Linked DNA regions of Homo sapiens: region 2 is linked to region 1. The links are contacts of gene promoters, found by promoter capture Hi-C in human tissues and cell types (Jung and others, 2019). All regions are on one chromosome and are shown on one strand. Each heading gives the region's core, a stretch centred on a gene start or on the middle of the fragment in contact. The rest is flanking DNA. Distances are from core to core; before and after follow the strand shown. Region 1 holds the start of ZNF799 (zinc finger protein 799). Region 2 has its middle 11 kb from the start of ZNF20.

What was found. Contacts are between HindIII fragments. The study calls those that stand out against the background at their distance.
Region 2: a contact is called between a fragment that was not itself captured here and the fragment with the promoter of ZNF799 in region 1, in 5 of the 25 tissues and cell types used here (bladder, heart left ventricle, liver and 2 more).

What each region holds. Positions count from the first base shown.
Region 1 is chr19:12,399,431-12,402,753 of GRCh38, forward strand. ZNF799 (zinc finger protein 799) reads right to left here and starts at 1,841. Exons shown (of 4, transcript NM_001080821.3): 1 at 1,638-1,841. The coding sequence starts at 1,640. RefSeq lists enhancers at 1,136-1,225, 1,946-1,995 and a silencer at 1,456-1,615. The HindIII fragment of the contact is 18,323 bases long and covers 1-3,323 here.
Region 2 is chr19:12,127,086-12,130,724 of GRCh38, forward strand. No RefSeq gene overlaps it. Among named protein-coding and RNA genes, the nearest start is that of ZNF20, 11 kb to the right of the region's middle. The HindIII fragment of the contact is 9,523 bases long and covers 1-3,639 here.

The DNA.
Region 1 (3,323 bases), core at 591-3,090:
CAAGGAATGGAAACTAGGGTTGGGAAGAAAAGGTGAGTGTCCCAGGAGTTAGCTTTTTACAGGAATTATATACCAGAAGATTCCTCCCATCCCAGTGGATCCAGTTGCTCCCCAGGGGGCCACACCCCCCATCTCAGGCTGTCCCCTGGGAGGAGTGACCCAGGGGATGATATTCACTAGACCCTCCAAGAGACTTGGCAGCTGTGGACACCCTTTTTTTTTTTTTTTTTTGAGACAGGGTCGGCCTCTGTTGCCTAGGCTGGGATGCAGAGGCACGATCATAGCTCACTGCAACTTCAAACTCCTGGGCTCCAGCCATCATCCCACCTCAGCCTCAGGAGTAGCTGCGACTACAGGTGCCAGCTACCAAGCCCAGCTAATTTTATTATTATCATTTATACTAGAGACAAGGTCTTGCCATGTTGCCCAGGCTGGTCTGGAACTACTAAGATTAAGCAATACCTCTGCCTTAGCCTCCCAAGGTGCTGGAATTACAGGAATGACCCACCGTGTTCAGGAACCCAAAATAATTCTTTCAAGAAAAAGCCATACATTGCTAGCTGAAAACAAGATGACAAACTAGTGAAATATCGCCTGGGGGCCAAACAGTTCATACCGTTGCTGTGAATTAAGGACAGAAGGTTAGCCTGGGGAAGTCTCTGGAAACCAAGAGATTTGCTGCCAGCCCTAGGAGGAGTCAGGATGAGAGAACACAGTGGTGGATTTGAGACCCTGCTAACCACATCTTTGGAAGACTCAGAGGGGAAACGGTCGCCCTTGGAAAGAAAGAAGGGACTGAGGACCACGGAGACCACAGCTCCTCCCACACACAAACCCCACACACGAGTCTGGATTCCACCTGGTGACTCGTCGTCACCGTGCAGCCTCCTCACCGGGTTCACAGGAACTGCGAGCCAGGCTGGAGGCGAGATTGCAGTTAGATATTAACCAGGTGCCCTCAGCCCCGCTGCCTCAAGGGGCCGCCTCCCTGAGAGTCAGGTCACAGCAGACGCTGACCGCCGGCTTCCCCATTGTGCCTGGGGATAAGATCTCTGAGAACTGCTCAAGAGTCGCCGGAGTTCTCAGATCCTGAATCCCAGCAAAGGCTGGCGCCAATCAGGTTGAAGTCCCAACGAGGGAGCCCATTCAGCAGAATGCGGTTTCTTCACCTCCTGTCCCAGGATTCACCCCTCACTTCCCCACCAACCAACGACCCTACACCCAGCCGCCCCCGTCCAGACCCCAAATCCCTCAGGGAGGCGGATCTGGGGTGTCCTCCCCTCTCTGGCTATTAAACTGTTTCTGCTGCAGCCCTCAGCGTCTCGGTGCAGTGAGTCGGGCCGCGAACCTGTGTTGCTTACAGCCGCACAATCTCGGGAGACGCGAGGCTGCGGGCGCGGAGCTGCCCAGAGAGGGCGCCGGGGCCGCAGTCGCCGCGCAGGAACGGGACAGGACGCCCGGGGTCCCGGCTGCATGCCCAGCCCCACCCTGCGGCCGAGGGCCGACCTACGCCAGGGGAACCCGGGTCCGTAGATCCCGGAGTAGCCCTTGGGGAGGCCCGGGTCCAGCCACAGCCGATTACTGCAGGTTCCACCCAGCCCCTCCCCCGCCTCGGGACGCCGGCCCAGCACACGCACCATTTCCCGACTTCCGCGGTGTCCCAGGTCCTCCGGACGGCTCCCGCTGCCAATGCGGGTTCCCGCGGGACACAGGCTGCCACGGAACTTCCAGGTCGTCTCTTAGCTACAGAGCCGAGCACCGAGCGCCCAGCGCAGGTGGGTGGAGAAGACGCCGCGGGCTTTTTCAACCACACACTCCTCTGGGAAGCGCGCCTGATTGACAGTTCCCACGAACCCGCCCCACGGCCCTTACTGGATACGGCGTCAGGTGCCGCCCCTCGTGGACTGATTGACAGAAGAAGCGATCTTGCACAGCTGAGTGGAGCCAGATGAGCAAGTTCCTGACACAGCCCTTGGCAGGGCGGGCTTCCTCCCTGCTCTTTGATCTGAATCCTCCCGAGGGATATTTGCACTTAAGCGGAATTTCCTGCCTGTACTCAATAGGACCTCCTGCTTCTTCCTCCTGTACACTGACTGACAAAACAATTATACTTTTTTTTTTTTTTTTTTTTTTTTTTCCGAGAGAGAGAGAGAGAGAGAGAGAGAGAGAGGGAGTCTTGCTCCGTGGCTCAGGCTAGAGTGCAATGGTGCGAGGCTCACTGCGACCTCCGCCTCCTAGGTGGGTTCAAACAATTCTGCCTCAGCCTCCCGAGTAGCTGGGATTACAGGTGCGCGCCACCACACCCGGCTAATTTTTGTATGTTTTAGTAGAGGCCGGGTTTCACCATGTTGGCCAGGCTGGTCTCGAACTCCTGACCTCGTGATCCGCCCACCTTGGCCTCCCAAAGTTCTGGGATTAGAGACGTGAGCCATCGCGCCTGGCTCCAATTATACTCTTTTTCAATGAAATTTTTCAAAATATTTCAATGTACAATTAAATTATTTTTTACTATAGTCACTCTGTTGTGCTAGCAAATACTAGGTCTTATTCATTCTTTGTAACTATTTTTTATACCTATTAACCATCCCCACTTCCCCCATAACTACTCCTCGCTACTACTTTTCCCAGCCTGTGGTAACCATCCTTCTACACGTTTTTGGTTGTTTGAGATGGGGTCTTGCTCTGTTGCCTAGGCTGGAGTGCAGTGGGGCCATCATGGCTCACTGCAACCTCTACCTCCCAAGCTCAAGCAATCCTCCCACCTCAGCCTCTCAAGTAGCTTCAGATTGTTCACTGTTGGCATATAAAAATGTTACTGATTTTTGTATGTTAATATTGTATCCTGCAACTTTACTGAATTTATTTCTCAGTTCTAATACTTTTTTGGTGGAGTCTTTAGGTATTTCCAGATATAAGATCATATTATATGCAAACCAGGATAATTTGACTTCTTCCTTTCCTTCCCAATATAGATGCCCTTTATTTCTTTTTTTTTTTTTTTTTGGACTTATTGCTCTAGCTGGGACTTCGAGTACTGTGCTGAACAACAGTGGTAAAAGTGGGCATTCTTATTGTGTTCCAGATCTTACAGGAAAGGCTTTCAGTTTTTCCTCATTCATTATCATGCTAGCTGTGGGTCTGCCATATATGGCTTTTATTATGTTAAGGTAGCTGCTTCTATACCCAGTTTTTTTTTAGGGTTTTTATCATGAAGGGATGTTAAATATTATCAAAAGCTTTTTCAGTGCACATTGAAATGATTATATGGTGTTTGCCCTTTATTCTGTTGAAATGATACATCACATTGATTGATTTGCATATAT
Region 2 (3,639 bases), core at 29-2,528, 270 kb before region 1:
GCTCTGTTGCCCAGGCTGGAGTGCAGTGTTGCAGTCTCAGCTCACTGCAACCTCTGCCTCCCAGGTTCAAGTGATTCTCCTGCTTCAGCCTCCCGAGTAGCTGGGATTACAGGTGGCCACCACCCCAGCCGGCTAATTTTTGTACTTTTAGTAGAGACAGGGTTTCACTATGTTGGCCAGGCTGGTCTAGAACTCCTGACCTCAAGTGATCCGCCCGCCTTGGCCTCCCAAAGTGCTGGGATTATAGGCATAAGCCGCCGTGCCTGGCCCCTGAAATACTTTTTAATATAGGGTGTAAGCCAGGCGCGGTGGCTCACATCTGTAATACAAATACAAATACAAAAATTAACCAGGTGTGGTAGTGCGTGCCTGTAATCCCAGCTACTCGGGAGGCTGAGGCAGGAGAATTGCTTGAACCCAGCAGGTGAAGGTTGCAGTGAGCTGAGATCGCACCACTGCACTCAAGCCTGGCGACAGAGCGAGACTCTGTCTCAAAAAAAAAAAAAGTGTGTAACAGTTGGTGAAAAGGTTCAAAAAAAAAAAGAAAAGAAAAGAAAGGTGACACTTAAATTTACATGACTTTTTTTTTTTTTTTTTTGAGACAGCGTCTTGCTCTGTCACCCAGGCTGGAGTGCAGTGGCACAATCTTGGCTCAATGCAAGCTCTGCCTCCCAGGTTCATGCCATTCTCCTGCCTCAGCCTCCTGAGTAGCTGGGACTACGGGCGCCCGCCACCACGCCCGGCTAATTTTTTGTATTTTTAGTAGAGACAGGGTTTCACCATGTTAGCCAGGATGGTCTCGATCTCCTGACCTCGTGATCTGTCTACCTTGGCCTCCCAAAGTGCTGGGATAACAGGCGTGAGCCACCGCACCCAGCCTACATGACTTAACTTTTTACCTTGTTAAACAGAGAGCAATCAACCCTGTGAACGTTATGTTCCAGATTCTGACAAGTGTGTTGAAAAAATTCTACACACTAAATGAAATAGGAGTAATGGGTGAGAGAGTGTGACCTTGAGTTTCAAGTTGGGGTAAGGGGGGCGGAAAAGAAGACAGTGTCTTGAGGTGGTGACATCTGTAGTGAGATCTGAAATGACGTGTTAGTATATGAAGTCAGGAAAGAGGATTCTGGGAAGATGGCAGAATAGGAAGTATCAAGCAGAAACTACAGGAAGCCATTTTTGTGAACTGAGTTCCTCTGCTGGGCCCTCAGAAACCAGACCTACCCCAGCGATTAGGAAATTACACCTAGGCAATCGTCATTGCCCCACACGCTACAAAGAACGTTCAGTAGACAATGGCTTGAGAAATGCGCCCAGTCCAATCTTTGGGTAAGCCAGGTGCAGAGATGTACAAAAAGACTGTCCTTGGCAAAGTTCTATGGTCACATGATGTTTGAGGCAGTTCTGCATATCATATGAGGGCCTTATTGGAGTTCTTGTGTATCTCTGCCAAGAGAGTACTGCACAGCAGAGGTCATTATTGCAACTTCCGTGCCATTTATTTATTTTGAGACAGAGTCTTGCTCTTTTGCCAGGCTGAAGTGCAGTGGCACGATCTCAGCTCACTGCAGTCTCTGCCTCCCGGGTTCAAGGGATTCCTCTGCCTCAGCCTCCTGAGTAGCTGGGACTATAGGAGCCCGCCACCACGCCCGGCTAATTTTTTGTATTTTAGTAGAGACAGGTTTCACCATGTTGGCCAGAATGGTCTCAATCTCCTGACTTCATGATCCGCCCGCCTCGGCCTCCCAAAGTGCCGGGATTACAGGCATGAGCCACTGCACCCAGCCACTTCTGTGCCATTTAATTGTTCACCAGTTGCCACAGGTCTATCTGTGTACACCTGAGTTGCTTGAGTGGTTCTAAACAAATGAATTTAACTTTCATTGTGGTGTTGAATTTTTGTATATACCTTTTATGAATTATTTTGACCGTGGGCTGACCAATATCATGAGTAAAAGATTTAAAAGGTCTAGAGGAGCCAGGCATGTTGGCTCATGCCTATAATCCCAGCACTTTGGGAGGCCGAGGCAGATGGATCGCTTGAGGCCAGGAGTTTAGAGACCAGTCTGGCCAACATGGTGAAACTCCAATTCTACAAAAAACACAAAAATTAACTGGGCATGGTGGTGTTCGCCTGTAGTGCCAGCTACTTGGGAGGTTGTGACGAGACTTGCTTGAACCTGGGAAGCAGAGGTTGCAGTGAGCTGAGATCGTGCCACTGCAATTCAGCCTAGGCAACAGAGCGACACTCTGTCTCAAAAAAAAAAAAAAAAAAGCCATAGGTAGGAAGCAAAATGTAAATAATGAGAAAAATATATATCTTAAGTTCACATTTGAAATATGTAAGAAAATTTGGTGATGCTGCAAATAAACTGAGGATTGTAATTATATAAATTACAAGTTTTTCCTGAGAAAAAACACATTTTCAACCTAAGTACATTGATCTTAAAGGATTTTTCCTTTGCTTTTTGACCTTGCTTTGTGAAAAAGTGCAAAAATAAGACATGAATAGTCAAAATAAGAATTTTTGGGCCAGGCGTGGTGGCTCACACTTATAATCCCAGCACTTTGGGAGGCCGAGGTGGGCGGATCACGAGGCCAGGAGATCGAGACCATCCTGGCTAACATGGTGAAACCCTGTCTCTACTAAAAAAAAAAATACAAAAAAATAGCCAGGCGTGGTGGCGGGCACCTGTAGTCCCAGCTACTCGGGAAGCTGAGGCAGGAGAATGGCGTGAACCAGGGAGGCGGAGGCTTGCAGTGAGCCGAGATCGCGCCACTGCCCTCCAGCCTGGGCAACAGAGCAAGACTCCATCTCAAAAAAAAAAAAAGGAATTTTTGGCCAGGCATGGTGGCTCACACCTGTAATCCTGGCACTTTGGGAGGCCGAGGCAGGTGGATCACATGAGGTCAGGAGTTTGAGACCAGCCTGGCCAACATGGTGAAACCCTGTCTACTAAAAATACAAAAAAATAGCCAGGCATGGTGGCAGGTGCCTGTAATTCCAGCTACTTGGGAGGCTGAGGCAGGAGAATCACTTGACCCCAGGAGGCAGAGGTTGCGGTGAGCCAAGATTGCACCACTGTCCTCCAGACTCTGTCTCCAAAAAAAAAAAATTCATATCTCACAAATCAAGGTATTTTCCATATGTCATCACACATAGTTAAGGTTTGGTCAGTCAGTGATTGCTTCTATGTCTGCTGGGACTGGGATTTTTACTCTAGGGAGACTGAAATAAGCTTTTGTGAAGAGAAGCACCCATGACACCTTAAAGGAAATGATCGGATTGTTCCATGCATGACTTTTCCACGATGTCATTAGCTTCATAATATTAGCATAAGAGGGTTCCTGACAAGTTTGCATCAACAGCATGTTACCAGAGAAAGAAAGACTTGATTGGAATAGTGATGCTGACTTTGTTCTTTACTGGGCAGGAAATTCAGTTTTCAAAAACATATTGGCCCCATAGGACTCAAGGTGATTTTTTTAAAAAAGTAGTAGCCAATTGTGGTGGCTCATGTCTGTAATCCCAGAACTTGGGGAGATGGAGACAGAAGAATCACATGATCCAGCAGTCAATGACCAGCCTGGGAAACAGGGAGACTCCATCTCTACAAAAAATAAATAAATAAAATC